2 separate regions of the Homo sapiens genome follow, and region 1 is linked to region 2. The links are contacts of gene promoters, found by promoter capture Hi-C in human tissues and cell types (Jung and others, 2019). All regions are on one chromosome and are shown on one strand. Each heading gives the region's core, a stretch centred on a gene start or on the middle of the fragment in contact. The rest is flanking DNA. Distances are from core to core; before and after follow the strand shown. Region 1 holds the start of APOLD1 (apolipoprotein L domain containing 1). Region 2 holds the start of EMP1 (epithelial membrane protein 1).

Evidence for each region. The method cuts DNA at HindIII sites, captures the fragments that hold promoters and counts their contacts. A contact is called where the count stands out against the background at its distance.
Region 1: a contact is called between a fragment that was not itself captured here and the fragment with the promoter of EMP1 in region 2, in 1 of the 25 tissues and cell types used here (heart right ventricle).

What each region holds. Positions count from the first base shown.
Region 1 is chr12:12,784,810-12,789,578 of GRCh38, reverse strand. APOLD1 (apolipoprotein L domain containing 1) reads right to left here and starts at 3,920. Exons shown (of 2, transcript NM_030817.3): 1 at 3,885-3,920; 2 at 1-2,670. The coding sequence starts at 3,887. The coding sequence ends at 1,927. RefSeq lists silencers at 2,394-2,503, 2,534-2,633. The HindIII fragment of the contact is 6,568 bases long and covers 182-4,769 here.
Region 2 is chr12:13,194,796-13,199,761 of GRCh38, reverse strand. EMP1 (epithelial membrane protein 1) reads right to left here and starts at 3,036. Exons shown (of 5, transcript NM_001423.3): 1 at 2,890-3,036. RefSeq lists an enhancer at 496-996. The HindIII fragment of the contact is 16,024 bases long and covers 1-4,966 here.

The sequences.
Region 1 (4,769 bases), core at 2,216-4,715, 410 kb after region 2:
GACATAACTTGATAGGACATCAGGCTTGCAAGTTCTAAGTGCTTCCTTCACATACCTCTAAACTTTTTATCTTTCCTGAACTAAATAGATTCCTTTTCCAGGTCAAGTGATACCTTCTGGCAAAATACCTTCAGGATAAATATGCTTCCTCAGTTATATATCCCACAATGCAAGCTTCCATTACAAGCTTAAACTCAGCTCCTGGTCTTGCCATTCAAGACTCTCCACACTTACTTCAAAGGATCACTTAAAACACTAGAGAAAAAGAATCTCCCTGAAGGAGAGAGACAATCAAGGAAAGCAATGCTATTTCCAGCTCATGCCCTGCCTTAGAAACTCAAACTTAATCTCATCTCTTGCAAAGAGCCTCAGCAGTCTCCCATTTAGAAACTTGCTCTTATTATTTTCTAAATGTGGTGATTAAATAAAATTAAATGCAAACACTAAACAATAATTAAAAATTAAATTACAAACTTAAAATAAATAAAAAATACATGGACTGGCACTTTTCAGAGAAGGTAATAATAGACAAAGGTCAGTTTCAGGAACTTCATATTCCTTTCTGTACCAGTTTCTACAACAGGCGGGAAACACTGCCCCCTAATGGGCTTTTAGTGTTACATCCCTTGTTCATACGGTGAGACACTGCCCCAGGGTGCACGTACGCGTGCTCTCTCTCTCTCTCTCTCATTTTGGCTTCTGGGACACAGTCTGTCCTTGGTCATCTGTGAACGACTCTGAAGACCATGGAGTCCCTAGAGAAGCCGTGAGACTTCGTGAAAGCTCATCAAGGGGATTAGAAGTTAGCATTTGTTGCAGTGATTTTCAAACCTTAGTGTGCCGCAGAACCACCCAGAGAAATTGTTTAAACTCAGGTTGCTGGGCCCCACAGCCAGAGTTTCTGATTCCATAAATCAGGAGGGTTGTGTCCAAGAATTTGCCTTTCTAACAAGTTCCTGGGTGATGTTAATTTGCCATTCCAGGGACTACACTATATGAGCCAGCACCATCATGCTAGGCACTTTGGCTCATTTAATATCTCACAACAGGGTGAGATTTTATCATCTTTGTTTTACACAGTCTCAGAGAGATTAGGTGGCTACACTCACACAGTAGTGACAAAGCCTGTCTCAAGCCCAGGACTGTCTAACTCAAAACCCATCACTCTCTTCTGAACACAATGATGTCGGGAAATGAAGTTGGCAGTCGCTCCATCTATCTGGCCCTCAGCTTCATGTGAGGGAGCAGGACTTAGATGACGGCTTCACGGGCTTCCCCTCTGAGTACTTGGAGGACTGGATTGGGAGCCACTCAGGAAAGGCCTACTTCATACCCAGGCCGCATCTGGGAGTAAGTAAGCTGAGGGGAAAGGGAAGAGGAGGAGATATCAGCACCAGGGTCCTCTCTGGGTTCTGAACCATCCTACAACGTTCAGAGAAGGGCTGATTTGCTCTGGATTCTGGAGTTCTTTGTATCAGAAATTCTGGAATAGAGGCAAACGCCTTCCTCACGCACATTTTGAGGACTTCAAAGACTAGTAGGACTTGGAGAGGACCCAGAGGATGGCACTCTCTCCAGTCTCAGGCCAAGCCACCAGGGCAGGGTCAGGGACCCCGAAATAACTTTAAAACAGGAGTGCCTGCCCAGCTGTGTTTAGACAGAAAGTTTTTGATAAAGGAAAAAGAGTTTTTGGGTCACATTTTTCCACTAGGAAGACTGAAAAGTCCGTAGCACTCAAGCCCAGGCAGATGTCACAGTGATGGGAAAAGAAGGGCTTTGGGGACCTGCCCACTTCAAAAACAGTTTTTCTCATCCTTTGCCTTCGGCTCCTAACCCAGCTTGGTGTTTTCCTAAGGGAGCTACAAATTCTGGAGCATCCCATGAGGATGATTTGCTGGCCTCGGTCATTAGGGGGAAAGGATGTTCTCAGAAAAACAGCCCTGCACGCTGGTCAGCAGAGATCTTGAGGTCGTGGCCACGACTGGACTTGGTGCAGAGCTGAACCCGAGACTCCAGCTGCTCGCTGAGTTCGTCCAGAGCCCCGGTGCAGGACTCCAGGCTCTCGGCCAGTTTCTGAATCTTGGCCTTCAGCACGGCCTGGCTAACCTTGGTGTCCCCCTCCGCCCGCCTGGGGATGAGGAAGCCACGTGAGCCAAAGAAGACGATGAAGTAGACAGAATTGTACAGGGCGATGGAGGCGTTCCTCCCGCACTGCAGCAGCTGGCGGTCCCCGCAGCCCTGCCAGCGGCAGAAAAACTCGAGGCAGCTCAGGATCTCTCGCATCTGGTCCTGGCAGGTGGCCGCGATCTCCTGCACCCTCCGCAGCTCCCGGGAGTTGCAGAAGATCAGCGAGAGATCGGACGTGATGGTGACGGCCCCTCCGGCTGTGGCCACCCCCAGCCCCACGGCCGACACCAGCAGCGAGGTCCCCAGGGTGACCGGGCTGAGCGAGAGCCCCACGATGGCGGCGAGGGCGCCCGTTGCGCTCAGCGAGCTGCCGGCCACGTTGGCTACGAGGGAGCGCCTGCGCAGGCGCTCCAGGCGCCGGGCCACCTCGCGCAGGCGCAGCACCTGGCCGTGCAGCCGGCCTCGGCGGTCCAGCAGCAGTCCCTGGAAGCGCCGCAGCGCGTCGGGCCCATGCGGCTCCCGGGCCGCCGGCCTCTCCATTCCCTGCGGGGACATAGACACGCGGTCAGCCTGGAGTCTCCGTGCCAGCCGCCGCTCCCGCCCTGCTGCCCGGACGCCAGCGGGAACTTGGCACGAGTTCAGCGGAGCAGCCACTGCCACGCTAGGGGAACGGGTCTGTTTCCAGTGGATCATGAGACGAGTTCTCAAAGACCTGTTCTGGAATCCGGGGGGAGCCACACAAGTTCTCAGGACCTTATCTCTGCATATGGAAATAGGAATAATGCTATCTTCTGCTTCTCTCCCAGGGAACGTTAACGATGGGCTTCATCAGCTATGTGTTAAATAAGATTTAAACTGGGAGGGGCGTGGTATTAGAAGGCTTCTCCAGTACTGAGGCCTTTGCTCTACTTAAGATAACACTTTGTAAGTGGTGGGTTGTACAGTTTACAAAGCCCTTTCATCATGTGAAAATTGGATCCTAGGAGTTTTGCAACACACTTTTCTCTCTCTCTAATGAATGAAAAAGACTTCACCAAAACCTCAAAAATCGTATTTTCTACCAAGCAGAAGAAACATCTAAGTTAGATGCTTGCCTGAAGCAACTCTTCTGCTTGTGATTCTTCCAGGCTCTTTTCTTAGAATCAAGCCTAAAATGAGATTTGCACTGTTTATTCTAACTAGGGCTCCTTGGATCTTCAGAAACATCAGTCTTTGCTGGGTGCTTGATTTAAACTAAGTCACATTAAATTAATACCATTATGTCTCTTTGTTATGAAAGTTTTCTTTTAAAAATGAGTAATGGTTGAATAAAATAAAGTGGCCAAAATTTTTGTTCAACAACTTCTACCACGTTGAAGCCAACTGAAGATGACTGACAAAGATACGAACAAGTTGTACATCTTGGGGGAAAAGTATATTCATCCTAGTTGCAGATTCCCACCTTCATGTCCACTGTACTCTTCATTATTAGGAACTTCTTAAAAGTGGCAAATGAGCCATAGAAATAGAGCATTTCAAAACTGAGCTATCAGGGCAGAAATCATTCTCATCTGGAAGAATTGCCTGCATCAGACATCAGATTCTAGAAGCAGCTGATTCTTCACAGAGCCCAGTCTAGAATCCTCATCTCCTTATTCACAGGACTTAATTTTACTTCCATGCTTCCATAATCCAACCCACCAGGGATAATTTTCCAGGTGAAAAGAGAAAATGAGAAAAAGTCATCCCGAATATATGCCTCAGGGTTCCCCACTTACCATTCACTTCTGTCTGCCTCCAGGAAAGTAAAATCTGAGGCTGTTTCTGGATGAGTGTGCTTTATAGTTCCAGAGAACCAATGGCTGCCCTGGGAAAGCCTTGTCTCATTCTGAGAATTTGCCATTTCCTGTCATGACCCCTGCTGCCTTCATCTAGAAGGACGTGACATGGTGGAAAATGACCTGCCAGCACAGCACATCCCGTATTTAGGAAACGAACATTGTGTGTTCGCTTTCCCCTGAACGCAGGAAGAGAACCACAGGCTCTTCCCTAACTTGAAACAAGTGTGTTGTCATTCTCCCAGTGGGATACCCTGCCTTTCCTGAGAATAGCTAATGACGCGATAGAGAAGGCCTTCAAACGCACCCCAGGCTGACCAATTATAGTGTTTCTTGAGGCCACCATTACAAAATCATATTTTAAAAGAAAAGGGAGGGGGTGGAAAACCCTCATATCTGACATAGCCGCTCATACTCCACTGCTGTATTTTTAAAAGCGTTGTGAATCTGTGAGTGGCTGGAGCCTGGGATCATTTGGCATGCAGCGGGTACCCTGCAGTCCTAAGAATGCAAGGCCACACCCACAGGAAGTGCTGCGTGCAGTTTTGGGCATCTCCAGCTGTGGAGAAGACATTGGCGGTCTCAGAAAGGGCACACTCCAGGTCACATGCATCAGAAAAATCAGTGGGGTCAGGCTGCATGAGGAGCTAATTGTACACTTTCAACCACAATAGGGCATTGGCTTCCCAGGTTTTCATTTGAAGTAGCAATTGTAGCCCATGTGATAGGGAAATGAGTGGATTCTGTCTACAGGGTCATGAGGCATGGGCTGAAGGGCAATTATTTTGATAATTCAGCACAGAAAAGTGAATGTAGCTTCTGTGG
Region 2 (4,966 bases), core at 1,787-4,286:
CTTTAATAAAATTAGAGTTGGCCTGCTAAGGGGAATGAGTGTGGAGGTACACACTGAGGTTCTGAGCTCCCCGCATCTGGAAATTTTAAGATCTGTAGGATGGCCATCTGTTCAAGATGGTGTAAAAATTAGATTTCTGCATACAGTAGGAGAATGAATGAGATCCAAGATCCCTCCCAAATTTAGAATTCTGTGAACGAAATGAAGGATGAAATGGAACTGACTTGCCTCCTGCCCTTTCCTGTGTCCACGTTTCAGTTATGTGCCCCACCAGGCTCCATAGAGTCTACAGAAAAGCAGTCTTGCCTCATCCACAAGTTTTCCCCGGTCTTCAACGTGTCTCTCTCCAGTAGTCCCTGTGGGTCTGGCACTACCTGAAATCCCTAGAGCCACCCAGAGCAAGCCAAGAGGGTCTACATTCCCGGGTGAGGGGTCTCCATGAAGCCCACTGACAAGGCTGGGAACTTGATGGGCCTAATCTGGTCTCTGGAGGAAGCAGGAAGGGCTGAGGAAGGCACAGTGAGTCCTTTCCACTCTCCACAGAAGGGATCTCTTTCCTTTCCCCAGCGGTCTGCCCAGCAGTCCTGGGAGATAGCCAGATTCTAAGGATGTGATTTGCTCCAAGTTGGTTCTTGATGGCCTTTTGCCAACTCCCAAGACAGTTTAGTACCCACAAACAATGTAAATGTGGGGGGCCCTCTGACCAGGGCGCCAGACAGGATGTCCTGCAGCCCCCGCCCCCGCCCCATTCTTCGGAGTCTGGGTGGAATTGGATCTGCCCCTGAGGGTGGGAGGCAGCGGGCAGAGTGGGGGGGAAAAATAACCCTCACATTTCGGGATTGTCAAAGCTGAAATCCAGAAAAACTCTCACAGCTAAGGGACTCTTTCACTACTTCTTGGAGGAAGAGCAGAGAGCAGGAATCAGAACGGTATTTTTCTAAATTGTCTTCAAACTCCAGGAAGTAACATGTAGCATATTTTCTCCTTTATAAACCTACAGTATCATGTGAAACCTTGCCACAAATAATGCAGTTCATGATGGTTTACACTCCCAACATTGTCAGGGCTTTCCGTGTGTTGACTGGTTATTAGTTTTAACCTGCACAGAACTAAAAGATTTGTATAATTTTCACAGGATATTAACACTATTGATTTAATAATGGCTAATCCACATCCATGTAATGTGGAAATAATAAACATGTGAAGCAAATGTAGGAGTTCCCTTCATCTTGAAAAGTTGCCCTGATGCCTACTCAATCGTCCCCCTTGGGGCAGTTTTACAAGGAGCATTGCCTGCTCAACACAGGGTTGATTACATGTAACTTCTCTCCCAACGTACTGCCTTTCTAAAGGAAAAGCCTAACTTTGTCAGACAAGCTGAATCCTGTCATTCTCATCTTGTTTACTTGGGGAAAAAATATACCAGTGTCTATGTTGAAATGGGCCACACCTCGGTAGACACTCACCCAAAATGCTAACCGAAAAAAAGAAAAAAAGAAAAAAAAGAAAAAGCACCCTTCTTCATTCCTCCAGATTTCATGATTAGCATGAGTGTTTGCATTTATACAATCACATTTCGGGAACAAGAGAAAAGATAAGCATTTCAAAACAATCACTGCCTTCCATGCAAAGAAATTCCACATCCACTTTCTTTTAAAAGTTCTTTTATCGTTTCTGGTATGCCATCTTTTCACTCAGCACTGAAAGGCAGCTCTTTCTGGGGTGAAAGCACAAAGCCACTCAACAATTTTTAACAGGCACAGATGAAGTTCTCCTGCCCCACCCTCTTCTCCAAACCCAGCTTCCCTTTTGCCTCCCCCGCCCTCCACATCTGGCCAAGAGAAGGCATCTGGAATCCTCATCAGCTCCTGCTTCGACCAAGTGAACCCCTCCCACGTTTCATTTAAAACACCATTTGCCTCCCTCTCTTTCTCTCTCTAACAGTTTTCTTTTTTCATTTTTTTTCTTTTTCTTTTTTTTCCTTTTTGAGACAGAGTCTCACTCAGCTGCCCAGGCTGGAGTGTAGTGGCGCAATCTCAGTTCACTGCAACCACCATCTCCCGGATTCAAGCAATTCTCCCGTCTCAGCCTACCAAGTAGCTAGAATTACAGGCACCTGCCATCATGCCTGGCTACTTTTTGTATTTTAGTAGAGACAGGGTTTCACCATGTTGGCCAGGCTTGTCTTGAACTCCTGACCTCAGGTGATCCGCCCGCCTCAGCCTCCCAAAGTGCTAGGATTACAGGCATGAGCCACCGTGCCCGGCCAACAGTTTTCTTTAAACAAACCAATCCCCCTCTTCCCATCCTGTGAGGAGAAAAAAAATACTTAAATTTAAACAGAAGTGAATAGGGAAGCAAACAGGCAGGAAAAGCAATGTCAAAAATAAACTGAAAACCAGTTATCTATCCACCACCACCCAAAAAATCCCAACCAACAACCAGCGAGCAGAGTAACAGTTCAAGTCCTGAAGCAATCGGAATCAAAACGGAGGAGGTGAAAAACATCTGGCCAGTTCCCGATGTCATTTCCAAGGTGTGTGGTGTTTCCTCCATAAACAGGATCCTATCCCAGTTTGTTTCAAAGTCCCTGCTCCCTCCACATCCTAGAACAAGAACCCGGTCACTGCCAGGCACGATTTTAGCCCCATCCCATTGATTTCCCCAGACTCCGTCCTCAAAATACACTTTTCTGAACTTTCTAGAAAAAGTTGTCTCTGTATCCACTTTGAGCCAAAAGTTTCAAGGACTTGGTTCTTAGAGGATCATAGAAAAATAGCGAAGGAAGAAAAGAAAAAGCAAAACTAAGATGAGGTCAGAAGAAGCAGAGCCGTGGAAAGGAAGGAGAAGTTTTGCTGAGAGTCCCCACAGCGTTGGGAGCTGTCCTACCTGAAGGGTCCCAGCGACAGAGGCGCTCTGAGTGGCAGGTGCTGGCAGCAGCCCTGGTCCGCTCTTCTGGAAGTATGTGACCGCACTGAGGGGAAGGACCTGCCTCCCGAGGTTATAAGTTTCCTCTGCTGGTGTACTGGGGTGTGTAATGGGCGGTTTCTTTTCACCGTGTTTTAAAGGAGTTTCTATGAATCAGTCTGGCTTTAAAAAAAAAAAAAAGATTTGTTGGTAAGCTACGCCCTGCTAAGCTGGCAGTCAGTCAAGAGTGGCTGGGAGTGAGCCATCAATTCAAAGAACCCTGTTGTAGGCTCTCTCTGACTCAGACACACAGACCACAGTGGAAAAAAGGAGGGACATTGCTTCAAATGAGTAACAGGATCACACAAATAGATCTGTTTACTGAAGCCCATTCCTCCTCACCAAAAAGGAGACTTGGTTACCATGGACATAAGGCAAAACACAAGGTTTCAGCCTGGGAGGGGGAGGAAAGGGGCCAGTGTCCTGCTGACTGAAGTCCTAGGTCATCATCAAGCGAGATTCCCAGTCTTCCTCCCCCATTAAAAGCATCAGCTGCTGCTCACTGTCAGGAATTATCAGATTCCTTTTTTTATTTACTTCCCTGCCTGACCCTGGTGCACTGTCCTGTGGGTGGCTGTACAGGGAGGCCCTGAAGGCGAAGGGGACACACTAGGAGCTCTTGCAGCCCTGCCTCTGAGTGATGGAGCACTGATTGAACAGCAGAGAATTCCTGGTCTTTCATTATGCTCTGCTAGTGCCCGTGTGGACTCTCCACATTCCAGGAGGAAGTCCTCTAGTTAAGAACTTTGCTCTCTGTAATAATCAGCTGGACCTTGTTCTACAATTGACTTTCTTGAACTTGGCCAGTAGCATAATCATCCCTACTACCTCCCTGCACCACTCCTCTCTCTCTCTCAACTCTGGAGCTGGGAGAGGCCTGTGAAGTCATCTCATCCCACAGCCCAGGCATTCCACTGGAGAGAGTAAAAGCCCAGATGCCTGAGTTCAAGCCCAGCTCTCCACAAATTTGCTGTGTGACTTTAGGCAAACCACTTAACTTCTCCATGCCTATTTTCTCATGCATAAAATGGAGATGGCAGGTATGTAACTCATAGAGCTATGATGAGAAATACACATATAGGGGCTCATGGCAGTGTGCATAGTGAGCGCTCAACAAATCTTAGCTACAAGGATTATTTTACTGAAGAAGCAGCTCAGGCCCAGAGAGGTGAAGTGACTTATTCAAGGAGATACAGTACGTTACCAGTAGCAGCTTGGATCTAGGTCAGCACATCCAAGCAATTCTATTTCTGTTATTCTCTGCTGCACCCTGACAACTTATTTCAATTCAAAATATGCGTGTGTAGTATTTATTCATTCATTCTGCCAATACAGGCTGCACGTCAGTCTTCACTGGGCCTGATTCAGAGCACTGAGTCACAGAAGTGAATGACATCCCTGCCTCTTGGAACTTATATTCCCTAAAAAGATAGAAAACAGACTGGTGGCTATTCACCAAAATGTTGATCAAATTCGATGATAAAATTATGGATGCAGTTTAGTTTGTTCTGGTCACAATTCTGTATTTTCCAAATCCTCTGCAATGAACCTATATTACTGTCTTTAGGATGTTGGCATGTGGATGGATGGATTTTAGGAAAAAATATTTTAACATGGGAATGTGGAGAATATTTTCTAAGGTGGATGATAAGGAAAACACAACACACACACACACACACACACACAATGATTTGATGATGCTGCATCTTCACAAGTCCCTGAGAACTGAATTCTATCTCTGTAAAAGTAAGAAGGTCTGGATTTTCTCACTGAAAACTGATGACGTGATAAAAGACTGCATGTTTCTCATAGAGTTCCTCACCTCTCCCCTCTCTCATTGCTCATTTGATAATAAAAATGCCTGTCTGAGAGGGGCCACTCCCAGCAGTGGGTTGAGAGTCCCTGTGATCTCTGAGCATCCCAACCCTCAGGGAGGGGAGGGTGTCTGCAGGTGAGGCCAGGAAATCCCCAGGCATGTGCTGGCGCTCCAGATGGGCCA